Regions from separate parts of the Homo sapiens genome. Here region 1 is linked to region 2. Evidence: promoter capture Hi-C in 16 types of primary human blood cells and fetal thymus (Javierre and others, 2016). All regions are on one chromosome and are shown on one strand. The core of a region is centred on a gene start or on the middle of the fragment in contact, and the rest is flanking DNA. Distances in the headings are between cores, read along the strand shown.

The links. Contacts are between HindIII fragments. The CHiCAGO score rates a contact against its expected background, and 5 or more counts as called.
Region 1: a fragment that was not itself captured here is called in contact with the fragment with the promoter of MKI67 in region 2 in 1 of 17 cell types (neutrophils); the score reaches 6.7 in neutrophils.

The regions. Positions count from the first base shown.
Region 1 is chr10:127,864,726-127,869,290 of GRCh38, reverse strand. It overlaps the pseudogene BUB1P1. Among named protein-coding and RNA genes, the nearest start is that of CLRN3, 26 kb to the left of the region's middle. The HindIII fragment of the contact is 2,842 bases long and covers 1,188-4,029 here.
Region 2 is chr10:128,124,060-128,127,973 of GRCh38, reverse strand. It overlaps MKI67 (marker of proliferation Ki-67), which reads left to right and starts at 1,551. Exons shown (of 15, transcript NM_002417.5): 1 at 1,551-1,875; 2 at 2,218-2,398. The coding sequence starts at 2,307. RefSeq lists an enhancer at 1,062-1,291 and a silencer at 1,402-1,771. The HindIII fragment of the contact is 8,920 bases long and covers 1-3,186 here.

The sequences.
Region 1 (4,565 bases), core at 1,359-3,858, 260 kb after region 2:
CTCCTGAGAGCATAGAATTTACAGGGTTTATAAAACAATAACACAACGGAGAAAAAAAAGTTACTAGGTAACAATCAATACAATGACTGAAACAGTAACCTACATCACAATGTTAATGTTGAATATAAATGACCTAGATTCTCCACTTAAAAGATACAGATTGGCAGAATGGATAAAAAATTACAAACCAAATATCTGCTGTCTTCAAGAGACACAACTAACATGTGAGGGTTCATATAGACTCAAGGTAAAGGGGTGGGAAAGGATATTTTGTGCAATTGGAAAACAAAATGAGCAGGAATAGCTATTCTTATATCAGATAAAACAGGCTTTAAAGCAACAACAGTAAAAACAGACAAGGAATGACATTATATAATGATAAAAGGACCAATTCAATCAGAAGACATAACAATCCTAAATATATATGCATTTTTACATATAATAAAATCTGAGCTCTCAGATTCATAAAAATATTACCATTAGACCTAAGAAAAGAGATAGACAGTAACATAATAATAGTGGGGGACTTCAACACTCCACAGATAGCACTAGACAAATCATCCACACTCCTCCAAGTATGGGGTGGTGATGTCCCCAGTGACAAGTTGTGCAGTTTGATGCCAATGCCTTGATACTGTGGTAAGGTCAACCCATCTCACCCACCATTGCTTTTCCACCATCTGTTCAAGTATCCCCAAAGAAAAAAGGAAATAACATCTAAGTATTGTGATGAAAATAGTTTTGATCTTGCAAACCTCACAGTGTAGTCTCAGGAGCCTCCAGGAGTCTGGGACCACTTTTTAAGACCCGATGCTATAGATGCCTCCCACCGAAACTCTGCCATTCTGGAATAAATCAGACAAATCTAGTTTATTAAATAAATGTCACACACCTGGTTTTGGTCTTCCCATCAGTTAGGTTTTGATATAGAATTTTCAGGAATCCAAAAAGTCCTGAATCTTGAAGACAATCTTCTATTTCTTTAGTGATTATTTACTTTCCTGTGGGTAGCTTCTTAGACTTGGGAAAAGGTCCTTTCTTCAAAAGGTGATCAACGGAAAACAGCAAAAAATTCAGATTAACCTGTTAACTTGGAGTTTGTATCACTATTAAAAAGCATTTGAATAGTTATTCACTGATTTAGAGAAAATAATCTCATCATCTCGTGGGTCCTCAACACTAAAGCTTATAGTGTCAACACTTCCAAATGGCTTGCATCTAATCTTTGGAAGACTCACTCTGCCATCAGCAATTGACCTTTGTGCACAGCCAGTCTCTGTGTTAACCAGTCCAAGGCCCTGCTCCACCTGGTCTGTAAATATACTCCCTGAAGCTGGACTTCTTAGAGTGAGTGAGGTTGCTGAATATACATCTGTTGGCCATAACTGTTCTGGACTCTTCTTTTCAACAGAGTCTCACTCTGTCACCCAGGCTGGAATGCAGTGGTGCAATCATGGCTCACTGCAGCTTCAACCTCCTGGCCTCAAGTTATCCTTCTTCATTGCCCTTTCAAAGTGCTAAGATTACAGGCATAAGCCACAATGCCCAGCCCTGGACTCTTTCTTTGAATTGGAATTAATTTTTCTTGTCTTTTTTTTGTGTGTGTGAGATGGAGTCTCGCTCTGTTGCCCAGGGTGGAGTGCAGTGGCATGATTTTGGCTCACTGCAATCTCTGCCTCCTGGGTTCAAGTGATTCTCCTGCCTCAGCCCCCTGAGTGGCTGGGATTACAGGTGCACAACATCATGCCTGGCTAAGTTTTTTTTGTATTTTTTAGTAGAGGTGGTGTTTCTCCATGTTGGCTAGGCTGGTCTTGAACTCCTGACCTCAGGTGATCGCCCTCCTTAGCCTCCCGAAGTGCTGGGATTACAGGCATGAGCCACCATGCCTGGCAAACTTTTCGTTTTGTGAGGGCTCCGTTATGTCTTTATAAAAATTCAAAGTTATACAATAGTTTGTAATCACATGTTTTTTTTTTTAAAATCTTCAAGAGCTTTCCCTGCATCATCTGGAAGTGTGTTCAGTAGTGTTGGAAGCAAGCTGTGTGGCAAATGTAAATCCTCCTGCTTTTAGGTTTTAAATGCACAAGCCAGGTTCTGTTGTAGCAGAAGCTCCCAGTGGGAGGGCCACCCAAAAACCCTGTAGCATGAAATACTTCATTTTATCTTGAAGGAAATCTGCTTGTTGCATGCTCTCCAAAGGATCTGGCTCCTGCCTGTAGGTTTAGTTTTAGACTGATGTATTCCATAATTTTCTTTGTTTCTATCTTTAAATGCTGGAGAACAGGCTAGGAAAGAGGGAGGAATAATTGTATTGACTCCTCAAACTACAGAAGACTTAAAAAAAAACTAGGTTGTGTTTAAATTGCATCTTCATCTTGATCCAAGGTGACCATTTATCTTTGTCACCAGCAACACTCAGGTCTACCCTCTGCCAGGACAGTGGCTTCCAGATGACTAGTGTGCCCATTGGACTATTGGACTCTACACACAATGGTCTCAGATCTCTGTATTTGTTTAGTTTCTGGATTTTTCCTTTCTAGATAAATGCTCTCTTTTCTTGCTGCTTGTTTTTTCTTTCAGTTTGCTTCTCTGCTGTTTAGACACTCATTTGTAGAAGGCCATGACCCACTTCTAATTTGCTGATTCTAGTTTTACGTGAACGTAACAGCACCTAGCTGAGCTTCCTGGCCCCATCCCTTCTTTCAACAATGCATGGGCATCCTTCTTGGGTGAGCTGCTATGCTGACTGCTGGAAATGTGGAAATACATGAAGACAGTAGCGGAATAAGGACAGTGTACCACAAGCGCCCAGTGGAGGGAGGAATTATCTGGATGAGTCAGTAGTAAAGTCGTCCTAGAGGAAGAGATCCTTTTACTGAGGCTTGAAGGACGACTAGGCGATTGTCCTGGAAGTGGGAGGCGGAGGATATTCTGGCCCCTGTCCTGGGGAATTCTCTTTGAGAACTGCTGTTTGAACCAGTTTCCAGGCCACACAGGAAAACAGCCCCCTTCCTTGAGAGCCTTGTCCCCAAGTAACATTCCACAACTCAGTCACAGTCTTGGTTCTGAATCGGCTGATTCCAAAGGCTAAATAAATCTACCTGCAAGAAGGTTTTCTTCCATTCAGGCTGCTACCTTGGGCTTCTGAGGCAATTCCTAAACCTGTTTTGAGAATGGTCACATGATTGAAATAGGTAAACAGTCTTCTATAGTAAGTAGGAACTGTTTCTAACCTGCAGTTAGGTTTCTAAATTAGTTTTTGTTATGCTGTAACATAGAACTCAATTGGAACAATATTATCAAAGGAAGGTTAAGATCCCAAGATGGTCTCCATTTTGCAACTAAGAATCTATATATTAATAAAGCCTTTGAAACTAATTTCCATGTTTTACTCTGTTTCTATGGAGAATGACAGTTATGGAAGTTGGAGATGTGGAGAACGTGGTTACATCCATGCATGGGATGTGACGAAGCAACTGAAAATCACGCTTGAGGAGATGATATGTACAATATGATGTATGAAAAAGGCAGGAGTGAGATTGTTAACACAGGTGCCTCTGGGTGGTGAGGCGTACTGGGTTTAATTTTTCCTAACACTGTCCTGTTAAAACAAAAGTCCTCCATATTCACACAATGCTTCTAATACCAAATGTGTAGTTATCGACACCAAATTCCCCAATTCTGTGGGGACACCAGCTGGGTGTCCTACAATTTAATCCACTTCTGACACTATCTACCTGGAGTCTGGGCAGACTCCCCAAATTAAAGAGCTTACCCTCCCAAGACTGCCCCACTTCAGACACCAATCACAAGTAGTGGGTCCCCAGGTTACCCACACTTCTCTCCATCTTGGCTGCAAATCAGAGGTTCCCCCATTCCCCCCCTCTAGTTTGATAATTTGCTGTAATGACTCACAGATTAAGGGAAACACATTACTCCCTATTACCAGTTTATTACCAAGATACAACTTAGGAACAAATGGCAGAGACACATAGGACAAGGTACTAGGGGGTAGGGTAAAGAGAAGCTTCCATGCTGTCTCCAGGCACAGCACCCTCCCAGCTCCTCGGTGAGCTCACCAACCTGAAAGCTTTTTGAACTCCATCATGTGATGGTTTTCTGGGGGCCTCATTGATGAAGGCATGATCACTAAATCGTTGGCCATTGATGATTAAGTCAATCTCCAGCCCTTTTCCCCTCTCTGGAGGCTGGGGGTGAGGTTGAAAGTCCTAATTCACTCATCAGGCCTTGGTCTTTCTGGTGACCCACCCCTATCCCGAAGCGACCCTATGGGCTCCCAGCCAGCAGTCATCTCATTAGTAGAGAAAAGACACTTATCACTCTGGAGATTCCAAGGGTCTTAGAAGTTCTTGTGTTAGGAATGAAGGACGGAGACCAAATATTATAACAAAAGATGCACCTATCACCCCTATCACACAGGAAAGTATAAATAACCAACAGAAATTTATTTCTTGCAGTTCAGGAGCTTGTGTCAGGAACCAGGGACAGAGACCAACTATGCATTTCTTATGATGTCATAATTAGCATGCATTACTTTTATATTT
Region 2 (3,914 bases), core at 302-2,801:
GGAATTTAAAAATATTCATTTATTGATTCATTTTAAGATAGTGATGCACCTATTTCATGCTAACACCAATAACTTATTTTTATGGAAAAAAAACAACAAAATGAAAACAGCGCTTTAGTTCACATTTTTGCAAATCTCTGTAATACCTGGTTGAAACGGAGACAGTGGGAGTCTCCTCACTGCTTCTGCATTTGCAGAACCACACCCCACACTCTTGGGAGCATGAGAATGAGAAGGGCAAGTAACACAGAGGGTCATTAGATAAATGGTTTTGACCTTATGGACTCTCTGAAAGGAATAGGAAGTCCTCAGGGGTCCCCTGCATCGAGGCCTCCCTGATCAAGGGAGCCAAGCTCCAAGGGTTGCTGGGGAGCTGGAGGAGGTGAGATGGGGCAGAGAGGCCGTTGTCACCAAAAGCGTGTTTAGGCTCCATTCACTTCACCCCAGGTGGCCTACTGAGCCCACATGGCCACCAGCGCAACTGAAGCAGACCCCGATAGAATCCTGTGTAGAATTATTTTAGGATTCACCCATCTTGGCATGCACAAGCCATTTCAATTGAAGAATGTTTTCTAATAACAAAACATTGTAAACCTAAGTATGTGGCAATAGTAATGATTAAGTAAATTATGGTTTCCCGAAGCCCAGTGCTCTGCAGCCATCAGAGAGTAAAAGCGAGAATGTGTTCAGTGGAGATAGCCTCAGGATATTTAAAAGCAGAGAGCACAAAGTATAGAATCGTGTTGTGTATGTTATGACCTTTTTTTCTGTGCTTTTGAAAAAGAGAATACACGTATAGCAGGAAAAGACACACCAAACTACTTTATATAATTGGTTGTTTTTGTGTTTGGTAAGATGTATGCACTGAAGAGGAAGGTTTCGATTTTTTTTTTTTTTTTTTTTTTTTTTTTGAGACAGGGCTTTGCTCTGTCGCCCAGGCTGGAGTGCAGTGGCGCGATCTCAGCTCACTGCAGCCTCGACCGCCCCGGCTCAAGCGATCCTCCCACCTCAGCTGTCCCAGTAGCTAGAACTACAGGGGCGCCACCACGCCTGGCGAATTTTTTGTAGAGATGGGTTCTCTCCAGGTGGCCCAGGCTGGTTCTGAACTCCCGGGCTCAAGGGATCTTCCTGCTTCAGCTTCCCAAAGTGCGGGGATTACCGGCGTGAGCCACCGCGTCCCGCCTGTTTTTAATTTTTAGCAGTTTTAAATCTTCTGGCAATGAGTAATGTTATAGTGTCCCAGATGTTTGGTCCTTTAAGAAAAGGATAGCAGGACGGGTTATCTCGGTGGGAGCGTGTTCCACCTCTGCCCTCCGCCAGCCGCCCTCGCCGGGGATGCACCCAGGTATTTTCCTCCGGATGCGTGAGTGGCTCGCCCGCGGACACGCCAGCCCCGCCCCGCGAGCCCGGTTTCCCCGCCCCCTCCCCGCCCACGCCCTGCGCTCCCTTCCTATTGGTCCCATGCCGCGCTTTCCCGTTCAATCGCAGCGCTTAGCGCCAGAATTTGAATCTTCGTTTTCGTTTGAATTGGGCGGGCGCGCCGGGCTGGAAGAAGGAAGTGGAGGGCTGACGCTGCGGGCGGGCGGGCGGGCGGGAGGACTCGACTCGGTGGGAGCCGCTAGAGCCGGGCGCCCGGGGACGTAGCCTGTAGGGCCACCGGGTCCCCGTCAGAGGCGGCGGCGGGAGCAGCGGGGACTGCAGGCCGGGGTGCAGCGAACGCGACCCCGCGGGCTGCGGCCCGGTGTGTGCGGAGCGTGGCGGGCGCAGCTTACCGGGCGGAGGTGAGCGCGGCGCCGGCTCCTCCTGCGGCGGACTTTGGGTGCGACTTGACGAGCGGTGGTTCGACAAGTGGCCTTGCGGGCCGGATCGTCCCAGGTGAGCTGCGGCCGGGACTCCTGGGAGCTGTCCGGGGTCGAGGGCTGAGCCGCGGGGACCCCCCGAGCTCTGCGGGGACGGGCAGGGGACAGACGCGCGGCCTGGGCCCGACTCCTCCTGGGCTCTGGCGAGGGCGTCTCGGTGGAAGCTCCCAGGAGGCGCAGGCGCTGGCGACAACACCCCAGCTGCCGGACTTTGGGGCGCCGGGGGCTGCGGTCGGATCGTCCTGGGGTCCCCGCTAGCTAGCTGCGGTGTGCGCTTCTGTGGCCGGGGATAGGTGAATTGGGCACGGGGCCCTTCTTAGCTCCTTTGCTATCAGAGTAACTCGCACCTCTTTTGCAGTGGAAGAGTTGTAAATTTGCTTCTGGCCTTCCCCTACGGATTATACCTGGCCTTCCCCTACGGATTATACTCAACTTACTGTTTAGAAAATGTGGCCCACGAGACGCCTGGTTACTATCAAAAGGAGCGGGGTCGACGGTCCCCACTTTCCCCTGAGCCTCAGCACCTGCTTGTTTGGAAGGTGAGCCCCGCGGGCGCGCGCGGACGTTTTAGCTGAGAAAGAGGAAAATACCTTAGTCACAGAATAAAGTCCAGAAACGCGCTCTAGGATTGGGTCCTGCCGTCACTTTTCCTTGGTGCTTCTCCCATTCGTTACTAAGTTGACATAGTTGTGTTTTTTTGTTTTGTAAGTATAAATTTGATGCTAGTTTGTATGTTTAAGTGGTTTTAAAAATCAAGCCAATTAAAAAAATCGATTTGCTAATGTTGCGGTAAAGAAAGATGTAGATGATCTTCATATGTCACTGGCTGCAGGCAGGCGTCTGAAGACACTGTGCGCCCCCGGGTGCCTCCACAGTGGGCATCCCTGGCCACTGGGGACACAGAGAATGAAGGAAGGAAGCCATACACTTGTCTCTTGGCTCCTTGTGGCAATAGGAAAATGGGACAGAAAGTCTTCCTGCCTGGAATTCGAGAACGTTTCCTCTTATATTGCTGTCCTGTTTGGTGGTGGTAATAACCCTGTCCCTGTATAACAGGTATAGTTGCTGACAGTGCCCCATCAGCCTCTGACATGTGTCCCACTAGAGGCCTGAGAAGGGGGGTCATTTCCCGTGTGGTCATTTCCCAGACCACACGGGATTCAGGCCTCACCCTGTCCTCCCAACCCCATCCCGGCCTCACCCTGTCCTCCCAACCCCATCCCCTACCTTGTTCCTCCCGCCTAAGGCATTCCAAGCCTTTGTTCACCTTGGTACTTCTTACACACTTGGAAGTTTACAATGGGAAAGTTCTCCCCTTCCTCAAGCTTGTGTGATTTCCATCATTCAGGCATCAGGTGAAATGTCACCTCTGAGGAAGCCTTGCATGAAAACTTGTATTTCCAACCCCACAGCTTCAGGGGTGAGTTGTGGGTTTGTCTCCCACTAGGCTGAGCTCCCCAAAGGCAAAGACTGTCTTGTTACTAATCACGTGTGTAGGGCCAGGGATGGTGTCTGGCATAGGGGGTGTGATCAATACCTAGCATTCTGGCAAGGGTCAGTAGAAACATGGGCTGGAGCCATGGATTTGCAATCTCTTGAGAACAGTGGTTCTCACAGGAGGGTCATCTAACCTTCCAGGATTCATTTGAATTTCCATGTCACAATATAGGACAGGGGCATGCGCTGTCATCGCGGAGGAGAGGTCAGGGTGGGCATCCTACCAGGCTCAGGGCAGCCCCCACAATACAGAAGCATCTGGCCCAAGATGTCAACAGTGCCAAAGCTCAGAAACACCCATCTATAGTCGTCCTCCTGCCAAACAAATTCTCAGTTGTAAGGGATAGTCTTTCCTTTGCTCTGATGTCCTGTTACCTTAAAATCAAATTATTTTATTGGGGTTAAGGAAGCTTTTCACTTTCCATAGATACCTTTCTCTTGAAAAGGAAAAATATAAACATTTCATCTCCAGTGGCAGTCCTTTTGCTTTTTTATACAGTACTCCTTGAATATATCTTCATGCAAGATTTTATAATTTAGAAATAATTCCTAAGTGTT